Linked DNA regions of Homo sapiens: all the other regions are linked to region 2. The links are contacts of gene promoters, found by promoter capture Hi-C in human tissues and cell types (Jung and others, 2019). All regions are on one chromosome and are shown on one strand. Each heading gives the region's core, a stretch centred on a gene start or on the middle of the fragment in contact. The rest is flanking DNA. Distances are from core to core; before and after follow the strand shown. Region 1 holds the start of KCTD5 (potassium channel tetramerization domain containing 5). Region 2 holds the start of PRSS21 (serine protease 21). Region 3 overlaps ERVK13-1 (endogenous retrovirus group K13 member 1).

The links. Contacts are between HindIII fragments. The study calls those that stand out against the background at their distance.
Region 1: the fragment with the promoter of KCTD5 here is called in contact with the fragment with the promoter of PRSS21 in region 2 in 3 of the 25 tissues and cell types used here (liver, mesenchymal stem cells and spleen).
Region 3: a fragment that was not itself captured here is called in contact with the fragment with the promoter of PRSS21 in region 2 in 2 of the 25 tissues and cell types used here (lymphoblastoid cells and spleen).

The regions. Positions count from the first base shown.
Region 1 is chr16:2,680,763-2,685,570 of GRCh38, reverse strand. KCTD5 (potassium channel tetramerization domain containing 5) reads right to left here and starts at 3,048. Exons shown (of 6, transcript NM_018992.4): 1 at 2,771-3,048. The coding sequence starts at 3,022. RefSeq lists enhancers at 2,366-2,415, 2,486-2,535, 2,080-2,690 and a silencer at 2,786-2,965. The HindIII fragment of the contact is 14,940 bases long and covers 1-4,808 here.
Region 2 is chr16:2,815,285-2,819,754 of GRCh38, reverse strand. It overlaps PRSS21 (serine protease 21), which reads right to left and starts at 2,518. Exons shown (of 6, transcript NM_006799.4): 1 at 2,423-2,518; 2 at 2,299-2,325; 3 at 1,789-1,954; 4 at 786-1,078. The coding sequence starts at 2,486. RefSeq lists silencers at 2,201-2,260, 2,371-2,650 and an enhancer at 4,316-4,470. The HindIII fragment of the contact is 10,567 bases long and covers 1-4,166 here.
Region 3 is chr16:2,661,248-2,665,976 of GRCh38, reverse strand. ERVK13-1 (endogenous retrovirus group K13 member 1) reads left to right here. Exons shown (of 3, transcript NR_040023.1): 3 at 2,570-4,729. Among named protein-coding and RNA genes, the nearest start is that of ERVK13-1, 9.8 kb to the left of the region's middle. The HindIII fragment of the contact is 6,273 bases long and covers 1-4,729 here.

The DNA.
Region 1 (4,808 bases), core at 1,799-4,298, 130 kb after region 2:
CTCATTTGATGAAAAACACCGGAAAACACTTTAGTAACGTGACTAATATGAATTAGCACTACACTTTTGGCAAACTATCTGTCACTAAAACTAACCTTATTTACTCCAATTATTGTTTTCTCCTTTTCTTTTTTCTTTTTTTTTGAGACAGAGTCTCGATCTGTCGCCCATGCTGGAGTGCAGTGGCGCAACCTCAGCCCACTGTAACCTCTGCCTCTCGGTTCAAGTGGTTCTCCTGCCTCAGCCTCCCGAGTAGCTGGGAGTACAGGCACGCGCCACCATGCCCAGCTAATTTTTTTGTATTTTTAGTAGAGACGGGGTTTTGCCATGCTGGCCAGGCTGCTCTCAAACTCCTGACCTCAGGTGATTCACGCGCCTCGGCCTCCCAAAGTGCTGGGATTACAGGCGTGAGCCACCTTGCCCGGCCCCTACTCCAATTATTGTATGAGACAGAGACGACTGTATCTGCTACTTTACCTTCATGTTCTGAATTTGAGTTTACCATTTGGAAATCAAACCTGGTTAAATGGATGATGATGAAAAGAGCAAGTATAACACAGATATATTCAGAAAGATTAATTACCCCTCGCTCAAAGAATTGATTCCTACAGTAAAGCATTTTTTTGTTTGTTTGAGACAGAGTCTTCCTCTGTCATCCAAGCTAGAGTGCAGTGGCGTGATCTTGACTCACTGCAAGCTCCACCTCCCAGGTTCAAGCGATTCTTCTGCCTCAGCCTCCAGAGTAGCTGGGACTACAGGCACGCGCCACCACACCTGGCTTATTTTTTTTTTATTTTTTTTTTTTTGTGATGGAGTCTTGCTCTTTCACCCAGGCTGGACTGCAGTGGCGCTAACTAGGCTCACTGCAAGCTCCTCCTCCCAGGCTCACGCCATTCTCCTGCCTCAGACTGCCTAGTAGCTGGGACTACAGGTGCTCGCCACCGCGCCTGGCTCATTTTTTGTATTTTTAGTAGAGACAGAGTTTCATCATGTTAGCCAGGATGGTCTCGATCTCCTGACCTCGTGATCCGCCTGCCTCGGCCTCCCAAAGTGCTGGGATTACAGACGTGAGCCACCGCGCCCACCTTTTTGTATTTTTAGTAGAGACCGGGCATCACCATATTGGCCCGGTTGGTTTTGAACGAGATCCACCTGCCTGGGCCTCCCAAAGTGTTGGGATTACAGGCATGAGCCACCGCGCCTGGCCCATAATTTTTAACAAAGTCTTAAGGAACAGTAAAGCAAAGGGATCAACCACCTTAACTGTGCTAAAGTTCATCAACTGGGAATCAAGTGCTCCAGTGCTGAATAGACAACCATTGCCTCAAAGAACCCAATGGACAAGAGCAATTTAAACTCTAATTTCATATACAAAACAGGAATGCTTGAGTAGAAAGGCAAGGGAGTGACCACTAAGCCCTGTTATTTAAAAAGAAAAACCAAACAGTAAAACATACACCCACACTTATAAAAGGAAAATCACAGCTAACAAACGCCTATTTCTATCCTGGGGATGACTGTCATTTCCTGGGAGGTCAATTCTCTGAGTAGAGGGCTTGGTCAAATGAGCAATGGAAACAGTTGGAAGTTGTGGGGAGGCACAGGAGGGTTGGCATCTCAAACCCTCATTTCCACCCACAAGGCTGCCTTAGCAGTAACTCCAGATTCTCACTTCCTGATCACGGTCATGCCATGCTGAGAATGGTCTCAGTCAGGCTTCTCAAACTTGAAGAGGGATCCGAACCTTTCTGGGAAGCCTCCTGCATGGCAAATGTTGGCTGCCAAGGCACAAAGCCAAGCGCAGTCATGTAAGCTCAACTGAAAGACCCCGCAAAGTTAGTATAAGGCTTGTGAACTGCCTTGAATAAATATAGGTAACAACTTCTTCAAACAGGCTTTTTTGTGAGTTTCAATCCTGCACAACTCCCAAGACACGGTTCCTCGGCTCCACAACTCTTGATAAATAAAGGTAGCAAAAGGTTTCTATTACCATCTACCCAACAGCATGAGCATTTCGCTTGATGAAAGACAAGCTGCAAACTAACCTGGAAATTCCTGTCCTTTTGCGAAGACAGTGGGAAAACTAAGCCAATTAGAAAGCAGATTGAAAGATTCCTTACCTGACCCTTCCTGGACATCCCTAAAGCAACCCTTAATATGAGCAAAATCCCCTTCGAAAAATCATACTATATACTACGGACGCATCTTCTAAGAGGTGCTGAGTGGGTGCTGCGTGCTGTGGATGGAAAGGATGGAGCGCCAACTCTCTAAATGCAAGTCACCAGGGAAAAAAAGGGCCGCCCATATCAACCCCCACGTCAGCGTTAATTCAAACGTCCAGAATGTGAAACAACGCCAAGGGTTCTGTTTCCAGAGCCAGCAAGTACCCTGGGACAGAGAAGAGAAGGCGTTCACACACCCTGGGCAAAAGAACCTAGTGAGAAAAAGAAAGTAGAATCACAGCAAAGTCCGGGGTCTAGGAAGCCTCCTCCACCAAAGAGCAAAGAGGGCGAGGAAGAGACACCCCCAAGGTGAATCGACTCAGGATCCTCAAAGGCAGTGGACGCCAGGGCGCCATCCTCACCCTCCCCTCCCAGGGTAGGGGATCGGGGCAAGCTGGGGAGGAGCTGGCGACAAGGGAGCGCGGGGCTCGAAGCCCGAGGAGAGTCGCCCGCTCCCGCTGAAGTCTCCTCCGCACGAAGCAGGGCGTGTGCAGGAGCCGCAGGCCGGGAAGGCCAGGACCCTCCGGGCTGGCCCGTGAGGCCCTCACCTTGTCTGAGTCCAGGTCGGGATCGGCCTGGCATAAGCGGTACAGGAAGGATTTCGGGTCCCGGCACAGGGTCTGCCGAGTGGTGAGGAAGTAGGTGCCGCCGACGTTGAGTCGGACCCACTTGGACACGCTGCCAGGGCGCTGGGCCAGGGCGCCGAGCCCAGCGCTGCAGCGGCGGCACAGGCCGCCCCCCAGCCCCGCCCCGATGCCGCCCCGGGCCGGCGACAGGAGCTCGCAGTGATTCTCCGCCATGATCCCAGCAAGCCCCGCAACAGCTCCCTTCCACCGGAAGCGTCCGGCTTTTAATAGCGTCCTCTGAGTTCTGTCCCGCCCACAGGTCCGCCCTGGTAGAGCGCCCGCCCCGGCGTCACGCGGTAGGCGGAAGTTCCGGTCCCGAAAAGCAGGAGGCTGGGCCCGCTTCCGGCGGGAGCGGAGCACGGGGTGATCTGGGCACTAACGCTGATGGGGAGCAGCGGACATCAGCCTCGACCTCCCACGAGCGGTGCACGAGCGCCTGACCCAGACCTCGACCCTAGCCTTCACCCCCACCCTGACTCCAGTTCATGAACTGGTCAAAGGAAGAGCCATGCCAGCAAACGTCTACACTGTACATGCTTTTTATTACAAGACTACGGAGCATAGGAGGAAAATTCATCATCTGGTAACTACACCTAAAGCACAAATATTTGGGGGGAAAAAAAGAACAGATTCATTAAATTATATGATTAAATCATTGACCCAATAGAAAATTTATATAATAAGGGCGGGGCCTGGTGGCTCACGCCTGTAATCCCAGCACTTTGGGAGGCCGAGGCGGGAGGATCAGGCGGTCAGGAGATCGAGACCACGCTGGCCAACATGGTGAGGCCCGGTCTCCACTGAAAATACAAAAATTAGCCTGGCGCGGTGGTGGGCGCCGGTAATCCAAGCTACTCGGGAGGCTGCGGCAGGAGAATGGCGTGAACCCGGGAGGCAGAGGTTGCAGTGAGCTGAGATCTCGCCACTGCACTCCAGCCTGGTGATAGGGCGAGAGTCTGTCTCAAAAAAAAAAAAAGAAAGTTTTTGTAATAAAGCCAGAAAAAAGTTGTAAAATATATAGTAATTATTCACATTCAAGGCTGTATATCAATACATATAACAACGTGGCCCCGAACATGAATTCAATACAAATAATTCATATATTAGAATTTAGGCCGGGCGCGGTGGCTCATGTCTGTAATCCCAACACTTTGGGAGGCCAAGGTGGGTGGATCACGAGGTCAGGAGTTCAACATCAGCCTGGCCAAGATGGTGAATCTCCGTCTCTACCAAAAATACAAAAAATTAGCCAGATGTGGTTGTGGGCGCTCGTAATCCCAGCTACTCGGAGGCTGAGGCAGAGAATTGCTTAAACCCAGGAGGCGGAGGTTGCAGTTAGCCGAGATCAGGCCACTGCACTCTAGCCTGGGCGACAGAGTGAGACTCCGTCTCAAGAAAAAAAAAGAATTTAAATAACAGGCTGAACTAGAGGCCAACAATAGCCAGCAAATAACCTTCTATAAGATTAAAAACACAAAAGTGTATATCCTAATACCATTGTATTATTTGTTTTCATGAGTTCTTTTAATTTTTGCTTTGTCTGTACATCACAGTTACAGCTACAGACCAGGTAGAGAATATTACGCATGTTCTGACTGCCACCCACCTGAAAGACGTACTAGTCATTTATCCTATTTCATGTTGTGAAGGAACAGCTACAGCAGCTCTAAATACTGTAACAATTTAATTTTGCCAACATCCAACTTAACAGTCGTAATAGAGGCTTTTACCAGCACAATGACCCCTATTCGTAGTCATTCTGCCAGACGGTTAGGCTATGTGGGTTACACAGCTTAAAAAAGGTCTGCCTTTTGTAAAAAGTTCTCTGTACATAGTTTGGTGTTTCTTCATATGGAAGAAATGAGTTATGGGGAAAATTCAGGTACACACGTAGGCTCGTTCAGTTGCTCACCACAGCCATCTCAACAGATGAAAGTGCTCTTTGTTGGAAACAGCTTCC
Region 2 (4,470 bases), core at 1,269-3,768:
TACCAACTTCATTCCTAGGTGAGCTCCAGCAGGAGGAGAGGCCGCGCCTGGCTCACTGCTGGGCCCCCATGTCTAGAACAGTGCCAGGCACACAGCGTGTGCTCAAGGAACCACGTTTGTTATTGTTACTACTGTTGTGGGATGATGCAGGGACGGGCCAGACAGGGGAGCAGAGGGAAGGGATTCCTGATACAGGGAACACGCCCAGTCTGGGGCTGCCGGGGCTCCTCCGGATGCTGGGCCCACTTCTTTCAGGGCATGTGTGTTGGGGGACACGCAGGTGCCAGGGCAGGCCCACCAGAGGAACCCCCAGAGGGGTTTCCGTGGGAGCTGCGGTTGAGCATGGCTTGGAAGTTTCTGGGGAGAGGAATGGGCTCAGTGCTGCAGGAGAATCGGCCAGAGCTAGGGTGGGTGTGGGAGGCATGGAGAGGCAGCCCAGGAGCCTGATGCCTGGGGCATTGGTGAGCACTGGGGGAGGTGGAAAGATGCAGGAATAAATCCAAGTATGAGGTTTATGTCGCCAAGCCCTCCAGAACCCCTCCACCACCGCACCACCCACAGGCCTGCGCCAAACTGGCCTCCCTCTCACACTCTCCTTCTGGCCCCCACAGCCCCTGGAAGGGAGAGAACTGGGTGTTTGGTCCCTGCCCTGGCAGGTGAGGAGAGACTGCAAGCAAGAGGGGCATAGCCTGCACCCCCAGACCAAGCAGGGGGCTATTGTGCCTATGCAGGGGAACAGGTGAACAAAGACAGTTCCTCCCTGACCCGCCTGTCCCCAGCCTCACCCTCATCCTCTTTGATGTACCCCCAGCCAGTCACCCAGCAGTCTGTCCGGTTCTCAAACTCAAATGTGGAGGCCTGGAGACAGATGGGCTGGATGTGTTTAGTGTAGGTGACAGGTGCAGACAGCTTCACCAAGGCAATGTCATAGGGTGAATTCCCCAGGTAGCGAGGGCTCAGATAGATATTCGATACGAAGTAACGGGTGTAGTAGGCCTGCAGGCTCCAGAAGGATGGCATGGAAGTCAGCTGGCCAAACTGGACCATCCACCCGGAGGGATCACTAAGGTCACTATAGCTGGCAGAAGAGAAGAGAGCAGTCAGGGGCCCTGGATGGAGGGCTGGCTACCTGAGCACAACTGGGGTCCAGTGCAGGAGGGGAAACTGTGGTGTTGCTGCTACTTGCTAACACCCAGGGTCCCCTGCAGAAATGAAGGAGCCCAGACAGACCACAACCAAAGTCCTAGGACCTGCTCCTGCAGCAGAAGGGTGGGGTCTTGTCACCTCCCAGAGCTGTCCCAAGGAGCCTTGCATTGAGCCAAGGCCTCCAGGGGCACCCCCATGCAGCCCAAGGAGGAATGGGGAGATGCACCACGCCAATGTGGGATTGGCAGGATGGAGTCCACACAGCGGCCCGGGGGTGCTGGCCTTGGCTCAGTGCCCCACACTGTACCGCACCGTCCACCAGGAGGGGGGATGAGGGTGGGATGGTCAGTGGTGAACTTTGGGTTGAAAGAAAAAGGGAGAGAATACCCAAAAGTGTGTGGAAATGTTCTGGAAGAACATTCTGGAATAACCTGAACAGGGTTCCCTCCAGGAGACCCAAAGGGAACTGGAGTGGGTGTAACCGGCTGCAGCACAGCCTGGGGCTCAGGAGAACACCAGGCCGCATCCACGCACAACTTTCACGCCCAAGTCTGGCATCAGACCAGAGGTAAAGTTCGGTGGCACTCCCTCCAGCCCTGTTCCTGCCCGTCCCCGCACCCCTCCGTTCGCACCCCCACTCACGTTTCAAAGCAGTGCGCCGCCGTGAGTGCCCAGCGGTGGCTGAGCAGGCTCACTCCGCATACGTGGGAATCCCACAGGCGCAGGCTCCCCTGCCACGGCCAACGCCCGAGTTCGGCGTCCTCTCCACCCACGATGCGCGACGTGATGACCCGTCGGCCGCATGGTCCTCGGATGGTCAGAGGAACTGCTGAGCCGCGGGAGGCAGCCCCCCAAGCCCGACCTCTCCCTTTCTCCCCTTCAACCCCGTCCGGGAAAGCACGTTTTTGCCCACCCAGGGTCCCCTCGCGTGTGTGCAGCAGGAAGTAGGTGACACTGGAGATCCTCCCACGTGCTCTGCAGGGCCCGCCCATCCCCCTCCAGCGTCCGTTAGTTACTTTCCACGCCAACAGAGTTCTCGATCCCGGGGGCGGGGGCGAGAGAGCAGTAAAGGCCCCCCTCTACCCCCTCACCGCCCCCCGTCCACCTCGGCCCAACGGCCCTGGCAGGAATCGCGCGTCCTGGGCGCCCTACCTGATAACGGCGCCGCCTCCTGCGACTCTGCGGGAGACAAGAAGTGACTCCCCGCGGCCTCCACCTCCCGTCCTCCCCACCGCTCCCCCGCCTCCCCATCCCGCCAGCAGCGCCCCGAGCTCACCCGGCTTCCTGAGTCCAGCCCGAGCCAGCAGCAGCGCCAGCAGCAGCGCCCCGCGCGCGCCCATGGCCTCCTCTCCCGCGGCCTGACGCCCCCTCTGCCTCCTCTCGCGCCGGGCCCGGGGCGCCCCCTGGGGGCGGGGCGGGGTGGGAGCTCTGCCCTCTACTCCCAGCTTCACCCTCCTGGGCCCAAGGGCTGTTTGGGGCCTCTCATGCCTGGCAGCGCCCTGGCTTTCAGCCCCTAGGGGCGGGTCTTCAACCACACTTCTTGATGTGGCCCAGACCCGGTGGACCCCACAGTCCCTTTCTTGTCTGCAGCCCAGGGGTCCCGGCTGCCCTCTTGGTGACCCCGTCCTCCACCTACAACCTCCTCCAGCACCAAGGGCCTGGCCCTGAGCCAGGAGTCCCCTTAAAGCCTGGGGACCCCCTGAAGGCCGGGTGGGGCCTAGAGGCATGGCTGCTCCTTCATGGGACCTTCTTGGGAAAACAGTGGTCCTCGGCCCGTTCCACCCAGAATGGGGATCTCCCCAAGTCTCTGCCCAGGCTGTCCCCACTGCGGGCTCCCGCTGGGCTCTCTTCACTTCTCTGGAACAATTTTTTTTTTTTTTGAGATGGAGTTTCGCTCTTGTCGCCCAGGCTGGAGTGCATTGGCGTGATCCCAGCTCACTGCAACCTCCACCTCCTGGGTTCAAGCGATTCTCCTGCCTCAGCCTCCCAAGTAGCTGGGGTTACAGGCGCGCGCCAGCACACCTGGCTCATTTTTGTATTTTTAGTACAGACGGGGTTTCGCCATGTTAACCAGGCTGGTCTCCAACTCCTGACCTCAGGTAATCCGCCCACCTCGGCCTCTCAAAGTGCTGGGATTACAGGCATGAGCCACCGCGCCCAGCTGCAATTCCACTTCTGAGCATACACCCAAAAGAACTGAAAGGAAGGTCTTCAAGAGATATTTGTTTTTGGTTTTTTGGGGGGATTTAGTTTTGTTTGTTTTTGAGATGGAGTCTTGCTCCATCGCTCAGGCTGGAGTGCAGTGGTGCGATCTTGGCTCACTGCAACATCTGCCTCCTGGGTTCAAGTGATTCTCCTGTCTCAGCCTCCAGAGTAGCTGGGATTAGAGGCACCTGCCACCATGCTTAGCTAATTTTTGTATTTTTAGTAGAGATGGGGTTTCGCCATGTTGGCCAGGCTGGTCTTGAACTTCTGACCTCAGGTGATCTGCCCTCTGCGGCCTCCCAAAGTGCCAGGGTGAAGGTGTGAGCCACCCCACCCAGCCTTCAAGAGATATTTGTATACCCATGTTCATAGCAGGATTATTCACAGTAGCTGACATGAAAGCAACCCAAGAATCCATTGACCACTGAACAGATCAGTGAAAATGGGAATGTACAACCAGAACCTGGGAATCCCGCCTCCCTCAACTTGAAACTTGGGAATAGCGTATTCTACTTTCAACACTTGCACTAGTGGAAGGTTAATTACATGAAAGATTAGGCAAAATGTGTGGTTAGGCGTTCTGGTTTTCCAATAAAAGTATTAAGTTTCTTTGGGGAAAGTACAGATAAAATGCTTAGCACAGAGCATGGTACCAACGGGAACTCAATGAGGGCGCAGCGGGTGTGTGGGAGCTTCGGGTTTCAGGAGCACAAGGCTGCGGTGCCTTCCCTCAGGGCCTCCTTCCCCAGCAGCAGCTGCTCAAGGACAAGTCACATGCACAGCCTGGCCTTGGCCTGCTGGGTTGGGGCAAAGGTCCCTGGGCTTCTGATCCTGCCCCTCTCCCAGCCAGCAGGACGTTCCCTCTGGTTCCTGAGTCCCAGGGATCCGCTGAGGCCCCTAGGAGGTGTCAGCTCCTGGTTTTGCCCAGGGTCTCAGTCAGGCCAGTCCTACCCGGAGATCTGAGCCAGGGACTCAGGTTCTTGCCTCCAGTGAGGCTGGGGGCTTCCCGCAGAGGCCAAGCCTGGCCCGGGGGCTGCAGGGAGGCCCTGGCTGCTGCATGGGCTGCAGATGGAGACTCTCTTGTCTGCTGTGCCTCAGGCTGCAGAGTCACAGAGGGGT
Region 3 (4,729 bases), core at 1,192-3,691, 150 kb after region 2:
CAAGGTCTGGGTTTAGAAAAATCAGCACAAGGCATCACTGAGCATATCATACCTACTCCTAAAGCAGACTCTACAGGACTTGGTTATTCTTTTTAGAAGTGGTCACTATCAAGCCTCCAGAACCCATCCCTTTGACCTGGAGAACTTAAAAACCTGTCTAGGTAGATGAGTGGCTGCTCCCAAAAAATAAGCTGGAGGCACTTCATATTTTGGTTCTTGAACAGTTAAAATTGGGACACATTGAACCTTCTTTTTCTCCTTGGAATTCACCTGTTTTTGTTATTCAAAAGAAATCTGGTAAGTGGAGAATGCTTACTGATCTTAGGGCAGTAAATGCTGTCCTTCAGCCTATGGGGACATTACAACCCAGTTTGCCCTCCCCCAGTATGATTACTGAGTATTGGCCACTTATCATCATTGACCTTAAAGATTGCTTTTTTACCATTCCTCTGGCCCCTCAGGACTTTGAAAAATTTGCTTTCACTGTTCCAGCCCTTAACAACGTTGCTCCTGCAGCACGTTACCATTGGAAAGTCCTACCTCAAGGTCTGCTCAATAGCCCCACTATTTGTCAATATTATGTGGGATGCATATTAAAGCCAGTTAGAGATAAATTTCCCCAATGTTATATTATTCATTACACAGATGATATTCTTTGTGCAGCACCTTCACGCTCTGTATTAATATCTTGTTTTTCTGCATTACAGCAAGTGGTCACAGCAGCTGGCTTGGTTATCGCCCCAGAAAAAATTCACACTTCATCTCCTTATCACTATTTAGAGATGCAGCTAGAGGATAAGGTCATTAAGCCTCAAAAAGTTCAACTCAGACGAGACTCTTTAAAAACTCTAAATGATTTCCAAAAATTATTTGGAGATATTAATTGGATTCGTCCCTCCCTACGCATTCCTACTTATGCTGTGTCTAATCTTTTTGCAATATTACGGGGCAATCCTGATTTACGCAGTAAAAGGTCTTTGACTCCTGAGGCAGATTCTAAATTACGACTTATAAAAAAATGCATTCAACAGTCTCAGGTTACCAGAGTAAATCCACATTTACCTTTTGAAGTACTAATTTTTCCCACTGAACATTCACCAACAGGACTCATTATTCAGGGACATAATTTAATTGAATTGTGTTTTCTCCCACACAGCTCTTTACGTACACTAACTATCTAGATCAAATTTCTACCTTAATTGGTCAGGCTCGTTCTCGTCTCCTTCGTCTTTCAGGAACAGAGCCTCAAAAAATCGTTGTTCCCCTTACCCGATTACAAGTTCAACAGGCTTTGCTACTTGCATTGCTTGGCAAGTGCATTTGGCACGTTTCCCAGGTATAATTGATAATCACTATCCTCATGTAAAATTATTTCAGTTCCTTAAACTCACGTCTTGGATTTTACGTAACATTACTAGAAACACCCCATTACCTGAAGCTGTCACTGTTTTCACTGATGCTTCCTCTAATGGCCGAGCAGCATATACAGGACCCAGAGAACGTGTTCTTAACACAGGGGCTATTTCAGCACAACGAGCTGAACTGCCTGCTGTTATGGCTGTCCTTGAAGATTTTCCTGAGCCAGTTAACATTTTCTCTGACTCAGCGTATGTCGTACATGTTGCTCGCAACATTGAAACTGCCTTAATCAAATTTCTGCCTGATGATAACCTATTCCTTCTTTTTCAAAAGTTTCAGTCTGTGCTCAGAGCAAGGTCTTCTCCTTTCTACAGTACTCACATTCGGGCCCACACACCCCTCCCCGGACCCCTCTCGGCAGCAAATGCCAGAGCTGATACATTAGTTACTCCCGTTTTTACAGATGCAGAAAATTTTCATGCTTTAACTCACGTCAATGCTGCGGGACTCCGAAACAAGTTCCCCCTTACATGGAAGCAAGCTAAAACTACTGTGCGTCACTGTCCTACTTGTCAAGTGTTAATTTTACCACCACTGTCTTCAGGAGTTAACCCTAGAGGACTTTCACAGAATGCTCTTTGGCAAATGGATGTGACTCATTATCCTCCTTTTGGCAAGCTTTCTTTTATACATGTAACTATTGATACCTTTTCTCATTTTATTTGGGCCACTTGTGAAACGGGCGAAAGTACAGCTCATGGTAAACGACATGTGCCTTCCTGTTTCTCGGTTATGGGCTGTTCTGAGAAACTAAAAACTGATAACGGCCCCGCCTACACTAGTGCTGCTTTTAAAAAGTTTCCTCAGACATGGGCAATTACTCACACAACGGGCATTCCCTATAACTCTGGAGAACAGGCCTTGGTTGAACGAGCCAATAAAACACTCAAAGATCAACTTCGTAAACAGGATACTAAATCAAAGGGAGATGCTATTACTCCTCATGCCCAATTAAATCTGGCTCTTTTCACACTAAATTTCTTAAACTTAACAAGAAATCAACCTTTCACAGCCGCAGAACAACATTTCACTGGAAATAAATTTGATCCACAAAAAGGAATGCGGGTATGGTGGAAGGACGTAAAAACTAACACATGGGAATTAGGCACGGTCATAACTTGGGGTAGGGGTTTTGTTTGTGTTTCCCCAGGAAAAGAACTACAGCCTGTGTGGGTCCCCTCCCGACAATTAAAATTGCACCATAACTCCAAAGATGAAACGCTCCCAGAAAGAAAAGGCAAAGACCCATCGGAAACAAAAGAGCAACTTTCACCGCCTGATACATACACTTCATGACATCCACATTGAGACAAAATCTCGCCGTGTGACCTACAACACCTCTCGTTCAACCCCACCTACTTGGGGTCGAATACAGATTTTATCTCATCAAACAGAAAAATTCTTAACAGAAAAAGGAATCCCAAAAATGACTGGTAATATAATTCTGGCTGCCTTTATGGTAGTCAGTGCAGCGGTAAGTATACCACCGGTCGGGGCAACTCAAAATTATACTTATTGGGCATATGTTCCTTTTCCCCTTCTAATTCGGTCTGTCTCCTGGAGGGACTCTCCAGTAGAAGTTTACACTAATAATAGTGCATTCATGCCGATCCCTAATGATGATCGGTTTCCAGCTCAACCGGAAGAAGAAGGTATGCACTTTAATCTGTCAATTGGCTATAAATATCCACCATTATGTATTGGGAAGTCGCCTGGTTGTTTAGCTTATTCTTAACAGAATTGGATGTGGACTGTACCGTCCTTTACAAATGATTCTTATCAAGTATATAATGTGTTCAGTACTAACTCTTTTCAACTTCTCACTGTCAAACGTACCCCACATGAGGCATGGAGAGTTCCTCTCACTACCAAAACTAATAAAACAAAAGGACTGCCGGACTGTCCAAAGAAACCTACAAATGGGCCTTTTATAGTGACTTCAATTTTATGGGATAATTGTAATGCTCCCAAGGCTGTTGTACTCCAAACTCTAGCCATGGGTATTGTTATTGATTGGGCTCCAAAAGGACATTATTGGCAAGATTGCTCCAGCAAAAATACCTTATGCTCGGAGTTTATTTATTCCTTAGATTATATAGAGCATGGGTGGCAGTCTTACACGATGAGACAACGGGTGTCTCCTTACCCATTTAAATGGATGGACACAGGTATTGCTCCTCCTAGACCAAAAATTATTCATCCCTTTTTTACCCCAGAACATCCTGAACTATGGAAATTAGCTGCAGCTTTGTCGGGAATAAAGATATGGAACACTACCTATCAGCTCCTTCGTACTAAAACCAAAACACCCACATTCAACATCACCCTTATTTCTGAATGGGTGATACCCATTAGGAGCTGTGTCAAACCCCCTTACATGCTGTTGGTTGGAAATATAATTATGATGCCTGATGCACAAACTATAGAATGTCATAACTGTAAGCTGTTCACTTGCATTGATGCAACTTTTAATCCCACTACAAGTATTCTCTTGGTAAGGGCTAGGGAGGGGGTATGGATACCAGTTTCTCTACATCGTCCATGGGAGTCTTCCCCCTCTATTCACATAGTCAATGAAGTTCTTAAAGACATCCTCAAAAGAACAAAGAGATTTATTTTTACTCTTATTGCAGTCCTTGCAGGACTACTTGCGGTTACTGCAACAGCAGCAACTGCTGGAGTTGCCATCCGCAGTTCTGTTCAAACTGCTCACTATGTTGAAGCATGCCAGAAAAATTCCTCCAGACTTTGGAATTCTCAGGCGCAAATTGATCAAAAATTAGCTAATCAGATTAATGATCTCCGCCAAAGTGTAACCTGGCTGGGAGATAGAGTTATGAACTTGCAACACCGTATGCAATTACAGTGTGATTGGAATACTTCTGATTATTGCATAACGCCTTATGCTTATAATCAAGATCAACATAGCTGGGAAAATGTCTCAAGACATTTAAAAGCCTGGGATGATAACTTAACCTTGGATATTTCACAACTTAAAGAGCAAATCTTTGAGGCTTCACAAGCCCATTTATCCACAGTTCCTGGCTCACACATTTTTGAAGGCATAACTAAACAATTACCTGATTTTAATCCCTTCAAATGGCTCAAACCCGTCAGAGGATCATTGTTGTTACTGGCATTATTAATATTGGTATGCTTATGTTGTCTCCTTTTAGTCTGCAGATGCCTCTAAGGAGTCCGAAACCAAGTCCGAAGTCAACAACAAGCAATGATGGCGATGGCGATTCTAGTTAATAAAAAGGGGGGAGATGTGGGCGGCAAGCCACCCAGGCACCGAGGCAAGAGACAG